2 separate regions of the Homo sapiens genome follow, and region 2 is linked to region 1. Evidence: promoter capture Hi-C in human tissues and cell types (Jung and others, 2019). All regions are on one chromosome and are shown on one strand. The core of a region is centred on a gene start or on the middle of the fragment in contact, and the rest is flanking DNA. Distances in the headings are between cores, read along the strand shown. Region 1 holds the start of VIM (vimentin). Region 2 overlaps HACD1 (3-hydroxyacyl-CoA dehydratase 1).

The links. Contacts are between HindIII fragments. The study calls those that stand out against the background at their distance.
Region 2: a contact is called between a fragment that was not itself captured here and the fragment with the promoter of VIM in region 1, in 1 of the 25 tissues and cell types used here (H1 embryonic stem cells).

What each region holds. Positions count from the first base shown.
Region 1 is chr10:17,223,924-17,229,490 of GRCh38, reverse strand. It overlaps VIM (vimentin), which reads right to left and starts at 1,250. Exons shown (of 10, transcript NM_003380.5): 1 at 967-1,250; 2 at 1-215. The coding sequence starts at 68. It overlaps VIM-AS1 (VIM antisense RNA 1), which reads left to right. Exons shown (of 3, transcript NR_108061.1): 1 at 1-146. RefSeq lists a silencer at 2,557-2,771. The HindIII fragment of the contact is 8,806 bases long and covers 1-5,567 here.
Region 2 is chr10:17,590,155-17,596,298 of GRCh38, reverse strand. It overlaps HACD1 (3-hydroxyacyl-CoA dehydratase 1), which reads left to right. Exons shown (of 7, transcript NM_014241.4): 6 at 1,916-2,094; 7 at 5,853-6,144. The coding sequence ends at 5,935. Among named protein-coding and RNA genes, the nearest start is that of HACD1, 24 kb to the left of the region's middle. The HindIII fragment of the contact is 6,159 bases long and covers 1-4,822 here.

The sequences.
Region 1 (5,567 bases), core at 1-2,500:
CGGCTCGCGGTGCCCGGGCCGCCGAACATCCTGCGGTAGGAGGACGAGGACACGGACCTGGTGGACATGGCTGCGGAGGGTGGCGATGGCCTGGGCGGCGGCGGTGGCGCGGACTGGCTCCCGGAGAAGAGGCGAACGAGGGCGCGGTGGGTGTGGGTGGTGGGAGCGCGGCTGCGTCTCTGGCGCGGGGACCTCGGAGCGAGAGTGGCAGAGGACTGGACCCCGCCGAGGGCGCTGTTTTTATAACCCCGTTAGGAAAGAGGGTCCCCTCCCACTGCCATCCCAGCCGCGGAGCGCGCCAGCCAATAGGGACCTAGCGAGAAGCGGGGAGGGTGGGCGGGTGGGGTGGGGGCGCCCTCGAGCCTTCCTGCTCCGGGGCCTGGGACTGGGCATGGTCCCGTTACTTCAGCGCTGGGCTGGGACTTTTGGGGGCTTTCCGGATGATAGTCTGAGCTGGGCTCACCCTGGGGTGCTGAAAAAGGCGGGGTCGCGCGGTGAGGGGGGGGTCCGCCTGGGACTGAACCAGAGGGGTCCGGTGGCACCACGCCAAAGGGGCGTGGGAGGAGGTGCGCGGCGGTCTCGGGGCTGCGGTCAGGCGGGGAGACCCGCGGGCAAAGGAGCGGGAAGAGGAAAGAGTAAGGAATCCCTCAGATCTGAAGTCGCGGAGAAAGAAACAAAGAGCGCCTGAGATTGGAACGCGGGGTGGGGGCGCGCACAGCGCAGGAACGCAGGGCTCAGGCCTCGCCGCAGCCTCGCGCGCCGCCCGCTTGGAAAGGGGGGCTGCTCCGGCCCGCGCCTCTGTCCATCGACTTGCCTTGGCGGAGAGATGTTGGGGGGAGGGGAGGTTCTGTCGAGGGACCTAACGGGCTCAGTCCAGCTTCGGACGGCGGGAGTTGCGAGACGGCGGTGGCAGAGGAAAGCCCGAGGGAGAGGGGTGGGGTCGCTTAGTCACCGGCGGTGACTCACCGCGCCCTGCTGTCCCGCCGATTGAGGGCTCCTAGCGGTTTAGGGGAAACCGTTAGACCAGATTGATTCAAGTCTCAGCGGGCTCCGCGCGCGCTGCTAGTTCTCAGTGCTACCAACTTACAGCTGGGCCATCGCCTTGCTGTGTGCGGTCGGGCCCTGTGGGGGACAAGAGCGCCCCTAAGTTTTTAATAACTCGCTAAAGCCTGTCTTTGCTCGAATGTGCGGACTTTTTGTTAGCAAGAAACTTCTGCAGCCTTTGGAGAGGCGCCATACGTGGGCCTCCCAGATCACGATTGCACCGGGAAGGTTTTTCTTGCAGAGTCCCCGCCCCCGTCCCTCTGGTCTCCTCTCGCTCTTCCCCCTCCCCCCATGAAACCACACCCAACTTTTTAAACAAGATCTGAAAATTCTGGGTGAAAGAGGAAACTCGACGTCCGTAGTTTCAAAATAGAACTCAGTGATCAGTGGTTTTTACCCTGGTGGAAGTCATTAAAGGTATAATATGAGCCAGTTAAAGAATTAATTAGGTGTTGCTTAAAAACCCCAATTTGATTAATGAGTTCAAATGAAAGGCAATTATGTAACACAAATGACAGAATCTTTGGCGGCAATAGATTTATGTGTTAATTTTAGGACAGCAATGCACAGTACAGGGTTCACGGTGATTTGTCTGGGAAATGCCATAGGTCCTGTTTTCCAAAAGAATTCGTGCAATTGACCTTGGGGTGAGGGGGATAAAACTGTCTACGCAGCAAAAAACTTCGTGTCCAAGACATGGAGGGAGTGTTCAGATTCGGTCACCTTAACCTTTCTAGGGAAATCACTCAATTCAAGGGCTGTTGTTTCAATATTAGTAACGAGCAGAGCTGAGTACTTACCCGCCAAGGGAGATAAAAGGAGACTATGTAAATCAGTCTTCTCGTGATTTAGTAGCAATTGAAAAGGCACAGGTTTTTTTGAGTATTTAGATTTATGGTGTACTGAAAGGATTAACTGCAGAACCACTGTAAAATTGATTCTGCAGTGGATAGGAGAAAAAAAAGTATTTCTCTCTTTTTTTTTGGTGGCGGCAGGGGGTACTGCAGGTTACTTGGTATTTAAGAAACATAATTTAGAGGTAAATGAAGAGCGTATTCTGACTTCTTTGGACAAGCCTCTTTTAGGCAATATTTTGTTTACCTTATCCCAGTTCGTTCTTGCAAATGGTGCTTGCCAAGGTGGAATTACAGGACTCTCTACTGCCCAGCTCGCCTGCTGGGGCTTTCTTTTATTCTCTCTTTCACTGGGAGGCTGCAGGTCATTCCCCAAGAGCATTCCTGGGGCTGGGTGCCCTGGAGGACAAGCCTATGCTCTGAGTTACATCTTGCTTTCTGAGAGCCCTTTATTCAAGCCACTGCTCAGCAAATGCCACCATTGTGAGTGTGCCTGGAACCCTTAGAATGAGAAAAGTGATCTCCCTATGGGAGGAAGAGAGTGTGGAACTCACTTCTACGTGCAGTGCCGATCCCAGGGCAATGCGACGCTTGCTGACTGACTCACTATGGAAAAGGAGGACAAGGCATTGGCGAGGTGTGGCACTGTGCCCTGCTGGTGCCCATAGCCGATTCCTCAGGGCTGCGGTGATGTCTCCTGGAATGGGCACTGGTCCTCTTCATCATCTCAGGGATAGGTAGCTCCTCCTTCCAACCTGTCCCCATTCTGAAGTCTCTGGGCTGTGATAGGCTGCTCTCTTGTCACAGACATATGTTTGTTTGATGCATATAGAATGTATAAAAGTGTAGGTGTTCTGTAGTCCCAGCACTTTGGGAGGCCAAAGCAGGAGGATTGCTTGAGATCAGGAGTTTGAGACCAGCTTAGGCAACATATATATATGAAACCAAAAAAAGCCAGGCGTGATGGTGCACACCTGTGGTCCCAGCTACTTGGGAGACTAAGGCAGGGGGATTGCTTGAGCCTGGGAAATTGAGGCTGCAGTAGGCTGTGCACACCACTGCACTCCACCCTGTGCAACAGAGTGAGAACCTGTCTCAAAATAAAGTATATGTATGTACTACACACACATATACATACGCACATATACAGCGTTCAATGTGTTTTTCCTATTAGAAAATGCCATTGTTTTTGGTGGGCTGCAAGAGAAGTGAAAGTTGCAGAAACACTTTCATTCATTCATGTAGAATTCATGAGACTTAAGAATTCATTTCATTCTGAGATAAGATATACAGTGCCTCAATCAATGGGTGATAGTTTTCAGTCAGGGAGATCAATGAATCTGAACTCACATCCTTGAGTGAGACAACTCAGCCTGCTCTCTATGCTACTGTGTTCTTAGGTATCTTTTGGGTACACAGACATAGCTTTCCCGGGTTTTGTGTTTATTTTTTAATTGCTATGAAAACCTATCTGAGAAGTATTTTCAAGTGCTGGACTGGGAAGCTGCTTTCAACACAGCATGATGCAAGTTGCATATAAATAAAGACGTGGTGGTATAATTCATAGGCCAGGCATAAACACTACCACATCTAAATTACCAACAGTGATTTTGGAATTTGCAAGCTGTCATGATGTCAGTTGAATTGGGTGACTTAAACTGACGGACCAGCCAGCCGTGTGGACAGAAGCTTAGTGGCCTATGGAGGCTTTGGGAAAGCTGGCTAGCCATGCCAAGAGAACAGCATCTAGCAGGACTGTTTGGATGGAATGTTAGAAAGAAGAAGGAGGGTACACTGAGAGCATGAAAACCATAGCAAAACCTAAAATCCATGGAAATACAGGTAATAATAATAAATAGTATAATAGGTAATGTCGATGCCAACTGAATGACAGACACTGTGTATATATTTAATTTAACTTGATGCACTCACACCCTCCTGCAAGATAGACTTGATCATCCATTTCACTAATGAGGAGCCTAAGATGCAGGCTAGCAATTTTCTTGTGGTTGTATGACTAGCAGGGGTGGGAAGAAGGGGACAAGAATTTGAATCGAGGCCTTTCTGACTCTAAATGCACTTCTCTTTTCTGTTTGCCTTGATAACAAAATTTTGCTTACTATCAACCAGTTCAATTCACAAATATTAAGTGCTGGACTTATCATTTAGGGACCTACTGTGTTCCAGGAACTGAAGAGATGGGATGATTAACACAGATCTTGCTGCGAAGGGGCATATTTTTAGAGGAATTTGGCAGACAGCTATAACACCATGTTTACGATGTAAAATGATGTAAAAAACAAAATCAAATGACGTAACAGTGATCATACTATGTAAGAAGGGAGATTTGTTTTCACCTGCATTCTAAAACATTACTTTCATTAGTGAGTTAAAAATTTTCATTTAGATTCCATTTTGCCTCTTAGGAGGAATCACATTCAAGACTGGGTTTAGCTCGTCTCACGCCCTAAAGCCCATGAACCACCATCGCTTCCCCTGCCAGCTTCCCTGTCTATTCAGGGCAATACAGCAAAACAACAAGATTGGAAACTTTCATCATTGCCACTTCCTAACTAACTCTTCCATCTCAGATCCAATGGGTATCATGCCCCGCTCTTCCTGGATCCACTCCTCTGTTACGTTGCTGTCACTCAGATCCAAGCCATTTCATACCTCCTTCCTGCAATACTGCAATTGGCTTCCGTTCCTCCATGCTTTCTTGCTTTCTTTCTTTTCTTTTTTTTTTTTTTTTTGAGACGGGGTCTCGCTCTGTCCCCCGGGGCTGCAGTGCAGTGGCGCGATCTCGGCTCACTGCAAGCTCCGCTTCCCAGGTTCACGCCATTCTCCTGCCTCAGCCTTCCCAGTAGCTGGGACCAAAGGCGCCCGCCACCAAGCCCGGCTAAGTTTTTGTATTTTTTTAGTAGAGACGGGGTTTCACCGTGTTAGCCAGGATGGTCTCAATCTCCTGACCTCGTGATCCACCCGCCTTGGCCTCCCGAAGTGCTGGGATTACAGGTGTGAGCCGCTGCGCCCGGCCCCTCCATGCTTTCTTTTCTGCCACCAATGCATCTATCTTCAAGCCATCACCCCTTTTTCTTTAAAACTTATATATATATATATAGAGAGAGAGAGAGAGAGAGAGAGAGACAAAGGCTTGCTCTGTTGCCTAGGCTGGAGTGCGGTGGCGCAGTCATAGCTCACTGCAGCCTCTTAACTCTTGAGCTCAAGTATTCCTACTGCCTCAGCCTCCCTAGAAGCTGGGAGTGCCATCCATGCCCAGCTAACTTTTTATTTTTTGTAGAGCCAGGGTCTTGCTATGTTGCCCAAGCTGGTCTTGAACTCCTGGGCTCAAGCAATCCTCCAGCACTGGCCTCCCAAAATGTTGGGATTAAATGTGTGAGCCTCCACATTTGGCCAAAAACTTCCTTCTTTAAACTTCTTGGCAGGAATTGCTCATTTCCTCACTGGAATGTAATCTCCCTAAGGGCAGGTAGGAATTTTTCTCTCTTTTGTTGACTATTGTATTTCCAGTGGCTAGAGAAAAGCCAGGCACATCTGTCGAATATATACATTAATACATGAGTAGTTCATAGAAGGAAGAAATATAGGTGTGGGGCTAATATTTACTGGTGCTTATTATGTTTAAGCATTGTGCTAGTCACTTTAGAC
Region 2 (6,144 bases), core at 494-2,993, 370 kb before region 1:
AGGGATTAACAGGTACAGTGAAGGAATCATTCTTCTTTCTTGAATAGCTCATCTATTTTGGCAAATAATTCTGCCCTTCTCCCCATCTCTTATCTTCGCATATCCTTGACATACAGGAATAATGCAATTTTTAATTTGTCTCCAAGCTTCTTCAATACTGACAACTTTGACTTTTCTTTATAGATATTTCCTAATGCCAACAAAATGATTAAATAAAATACAGATTAATTTGATTTCTTTTTCCATCAAAATGTTGACCTTTTGTTTTAAATTAAAAACATTTTTCTTTTTTTAAATTAAATTTATTTTTTTTGAGACAGGGTCTCGCTGTGTCACCCAGGCTGGAGTACAGTGGTGCGGTCTTGGCTCACTGCCCCCTTGACCTCCTAGGCTCAAGCAATCCTCCTGCCTTAGCCTCCCAAGTAGCTGGGGCGACAGGCATGCACCACTGTGGTCTGCTCATTAAATTTTTTTTTGTGAGACGGGGTCTTACTATATCGCCCAGAGTGGTCTTGCACTCTGGCCTCTTAAGTTTTCTGTGGTAACTGTTATATAGTGACTGAGTCAGAGAAAAATGATTTTTTTTTTTAATGAAGAAATATGATCATCTTGGATCCTTTAGGCCCCTCTTATTGGAGACCAGCCAGTAGAACACAGAGTGTTTCCTAATTGGAAGCATACAGGATGCCTGGCCTACTGTGTGTTCCAGACCTTGCCACAGACCAAATGAACACATGATGACTTTGGATTTAGAGTAGAACTTTCTTAACTCTACTTTAAACAAGCTCACTCTTCTTTTAATGTGGGAATTCAGGAACTAACTTGTCAATTTATTTTGTTACGGTAGCAGTTTTAGACAATATAATATACTCATTAGTAGCTACTCATGCTTCAGGTGGTATTATCAGTTTTCTGCAATAATTGGTTTTCATTAGTAACCACAAAGACTTTTTCAAATGCCTCTTAAAAATAACTACCTTGGTAATTTCAAGGTTTAGATATAAAATTTAGGATAATCACTGGTCTTTTTAAACGCAGTGTTTGATCAATAAATTACTAGCTGCCGCGGACAAAAGCAGTCATTTGTGATTTTATGCACCAAAGAAGTTACCATTACAATACTTTTTTTAAAGCTACATAGGCCGGGCATGGTGGCTCATGTCTGTAATCCCAGCACTTTGGGAGGCTGAGGCGGGTGGATCACCTGAAGGCAGGAGTTCAAGACCAGCCTGACCAACATGGTGAAACCCTGTCTCTACTAAAAATACAAAAATTAACCGGGCGTGGTGGCGGGCGCCTGTAGTCCCAGCTACCCAGGAGGCTGAGGCAGGAGAATTGCTTGAACCCGGGAGGTGGAGGTTGCAGTGACCCAAGATTGTGCCACTGCACTCCAGTCTAGGCGACAGAGTAAGACTCCATCTCAAAAAAAAACAAAAAACAAAAAAAAAAAACACCAAAAATTAGCTGGGTATGGTGGCACACACCTGTAATCCCAGCTACTTGGGAGGCTGAGGCAGGAGAATTACTTGAACCCAGGAGGTGGAGGTTGCAGTGAGCCAAGACTGTGCCGCTGCACTCCAGCCTGGTGACAAGAGCGAACTCCATCTCAAAACAAAAACAAGAAAAACTACATATACATTTTTTAATACATAAAAGTATTTTGGTACTCTAAAATAAGTTGATACTATTTTATTAAAAAGACATTGCCTATTATGGAAACTGGTATTAGGAAAAAAAGGATGATAATCAATAAGCAAATGATTAAAGTAGAACTATTAACCTTACGTAAGGTTATTGTAAATATGTAAAGAAAAGAGAATTTTGAAGTTTAAATTTAGTAGTAGCAATAGACCTGCAATGTAAAGTCTAATAATTATTGTAGAAAAATAATTCTCTGAGGTTTTTCTTTCTCCAGATATAATTTTTTTATCATCTTATATCCTGTTGGAGTTGCTGGTGAACTTCTTACAATATACGCTGCCTTGCCGCATGTGAAGAAAACAGGAATGTTTTCAATAAGACTTCCTAACAAATACAATGTCTCTTTTGACTACTATTATTTTCTTCTTATAACCATGGCATCATATATACCTTGTAAGTATATACTTATTAGTACTTTGATTTGACATATGATGTGGAAATTTTTGAAAGGATATAATAATATGCAAGGGGAAATAATTAGAAATAATTGCTTACAAATACATTAAAACTTCGGTTTAACTCCATATTTACTGATAATTTGGGAAAAGTGAAGGGAGATAGAGGCAGAAGACAGTTCATTAGCTATGAGAATAAAGGCAGGTAAATTAACGCATGGATTATTGCTTTCTCAAAATCATTTAAACATCAGCTTAGTATGATTTTTTTAAAGAAAGATAAAAACAAATCATGTTTAAAGCATTAGTGCACTTTTTACAAGCATTTAGAATTATATGTCTGAGTATAAACACTGTGTCCAAGAAAATTTCAGATCATTTCTATCTATTCATTAAGCATATACTTGGAAAAATCATCTAGGAGTAGTTTTGAGTCTTATTTGTGTTGCTCTATGTACTTGCAAATAATAAAGCCTCTTTTCTTAAAGGATTTTGAATAAGTCAGCCTCTTCACTAATTTCTCATCATCTTTCAGCAGTTGAAGTGAATTGGTAAGGCTTTACTCCATTTCAGTGCTGCTAATAGTGAGGCAGGGCTCCGTGGCTCATGCCTATAATCCCAGCACTTTGGGAGGCCGAGGCAGGTGGATCACCTGAGGTCAGGAGTTCGAGACCAGGCTGGCCAACATGGCAAAACCCTGTCTCTACTAAAATACAGAAATTAACTGGGCATGGTGGCGCATGCCTGTAATCTCAGCTACTCAGGAGGCTGAGGCAGGAGAATCGTTTGAACCTGAGAGGCAGAAGTTGCAGTGAACTGACATGATGCCATTGCATTCCAGCCTGGGCAATAAGAGTGAGACTCTGTCTCAAAAAAAAAAAGGCGTGGGGGCTAATAGTGATATATTTTTAAGTCAAATATTGATAGCTCTAAAATCTACATCGACATGATACAAATTATTTCATCTAAAGGAGATGCGCATAAAACTTGGCCAGCCCCTTGAGGTCTCCAACTTTTTTTTGTTGTTTTTTTTGAGACAGAGTCTTGCGCTTTTGCCCAGGCTGGAGTGCAGTGGCGCCATCTCAGCTCACTCCAATCGCTGCCTCTCAGGTTCATGGGATTACAAGCGCCTGCCACAGTGCCCACCTAATTTTTGTATTTTTAGTAGAGACGAGGTTTCACCATATTGGCCAGGCTGGTCTCAAACTCCTGACCTCAAGGGATCCACCCACCTTGGTCTCCCAAAGTGCTGGGATTACAGGCATGAGCCCCTGCCCCCGGCAGATGTCTCCAACTTGTATCTTTCCCAAAGTCAAAATTGACTTAGTGGTGAAAGATATGTTTTCCCCTTGTCTTCTACCACTTCAGCCTGATTCTGTATCTGATTTTCTACCCCAGCCAGTTCGGGAGAGCTAAGGAGGGGATGCCTACTCTATTGGTTCACATCCCTCTCTTTTCCCAATGGCAGGTTAATGGTAGCATTACTTGAACAGAACCAGAGCTTGCTTCGGTGTCTGTCTGACAGTTACAGGTTCAAACAGTGGGTTCTCTTCCTCCTCATGGCTTTTGAGGCATCTCCATGGAAATGGAGAGCCTGAAGCACCTTTTTCAGTTGTCCTGGGAGATGTAGACTCTGGCCTGTACCAGTAGCAGCTTCCCAGTTCACCATGCTGCCAGCTACTGAGTCCCACTGGCCAGAGAATCACTCAGCCCAGAACATGTTTTCCACTGCATTTTTTTTTAATTCCCTCCTCCCCCTGCATTCTTAATGTTAGTAATAAATCAATTAATTTTACTTATTAAATCCTTTGCTAATTAAAAGTACTTTTTGAGTACTTAGTATTCAAAAGTAGTAGTATTATTTCTCATTTACATTAAGATGAAAGAGGTTAAGTGAGTTGCTTAAAAATCACTAGCTTGTGGCCTGGTGTGGTGGCTCACACCTGTAATCGCAGCACTTTGGGAGGCCAAGGTGGGAGGATTGCTTGAGGTCAGGAGTTCAAGACCAGCCTGACCACCATGGTGAAACCCCGTCTCTACTAAAAATACAAAAATTAGCCAGACATGGTAGTGGGCACCTGTAGTCCCAGCTACTCAGGAGGCTGATGCAGGAAAATCACTGAAACCGGGGAGGCAGAGGTTGCAGTGAGCCAAGATTACACCACTGCACTCCAGCCTGAGTGACAGAGTGAGACTCCATCTCAAAAAAAAAAAAAAAAAAAAAAATCAGTAGCTGGTGAGTTAAGGCAGGGTTTGAACTCAAGCCCATACCTTCTGTTCAGCTACTCGGAATTTTATGGAAGTATTTACAATAATTGGTCAGTGAGTTTAAGTAATTATGACCTGAGTAAATTTAGCCCCCTAGGTATATATAATGTGATGGTAACCTTTCTTAAGTTAGGAAGAACCTAAATAGAAAGACTTTTTATCCAAAGTTGCCTAAGCAGGATATTCAAAGCTTGTTTTGTGATAAGGTTCATTGGTTTGATTATTCTGATCATCATATTCAGAAATATTTTTACACTGGCATTGTTTATAGCTGATATTAATTTGTTTATCCACCAACATTTATACTATGAAACACTGGTTTGAAACACTGGTTCAAATTGGTTCAAAATATTCTTCAAATTTGACTGGACAGATGACAATTTGTCCAACTGACCTAATAACGTATGTATTTATGTGTTATTATATAATGGATTAAATACCCTTACACCCAGCCAGGAGGAGCTTCTGCTTTAGGCTCTGTTAAGAGGACCTTGCTGTAGCTCTTCTGTGGTCACTCCACACAGCACCCCACTGCCTTCTAGATCACATTCTAGAAACCTGAGACCATGGAATTTGCTACCCAGAGGGCAATGAGCATGCATCTGGGCCCTAACCAGGCTTCTTCGTTGATCCATGGTCCTGAGGGTTAACCATGTATCAGTATACGCACCCCTGAGAAAACAGGATAGCCAGGGGGCAGCTGTTTGTGAGGGGTATGGATGAAGCTTAGATGTATGCACCCGGGTATCCTCACACATGTGCAGGAGACCCCTTGCAGTACAGGATACAGCCAGTAGAATGGAGAAGAGGAGGCTGGGTGGGGCCAGTTTTCCCTGTGCTGGAATGTTCTGGCGCAGCATTCCAAAGAGTTCAGAATTCTAAACTCAAACATGGTCTTCCAGGTCATTATGAAGGTATTTTTATCAAGGTATTTAAGTTTGTTAAAAACAAGCAAAAATAGGCCGGGCGCAGTGGTTCATGCCTGTAATCCCAGCACTTTGGGAGGCCGAGGCAGGCGGATCACTTGAGGCCAGGAGTTCAAGACCAGGCTGACCAACCTGGTGAAATCCCATCTCTACTAAAAACAGAAAAATTAGTCAGGTGTGGTGGTGATGCATGCCTGTAATCTCAGCTACTCGGGAGACTGAGGCAGGAGAACTGCTTGAACCTGGGAGGCAGAGGTTGCAGTGAGCTGAGATCATGCTACTGCACTCTAGCTGGGGCAATAGAGTGAGACTCTGTCTCAGGAAAAAAAATAAATAAGCAAAAGTAAAAACAAAACCTCAACAGTTACAGCATTAGAATATTTAGGCATGTGGTATGTGGGCTTCCATTTGCACTCTTATAGTCTTGAGCTCTGTAAATATCCAGGGAACAGCAGTGGTATGGGATGTATTTACTCTCTAACATTGCCACATTTAACAGGTTTCAAGTATAAATAATTTTAAAGCAATAGCTTGTTTTTCTTTGTTTTCTTTTTCAATGAAGTGTTTCCACAACTCTATTTTCATATGTTACGTCAAAGAAGAAAGGTGCTTCATGGAGAGGTGATTGTAGAAAAGGATGATTAAATGATCTCTGCAAACAAGGTGCTTTTTCCAGAATAACCAAGATTACCTGAGTCCAAGTTTTAATAACAAGAATAAACAACTTTGTGAAATATCATGGATTGTATGGTTTCTTAAAATATAACTTGAGACACGTGGTATTTGCCAGTATTTGTGTTCCTCTTGTGCCAGATCTATTTTTTACAAGAACTGTGCAAATATCAGTAACTTTT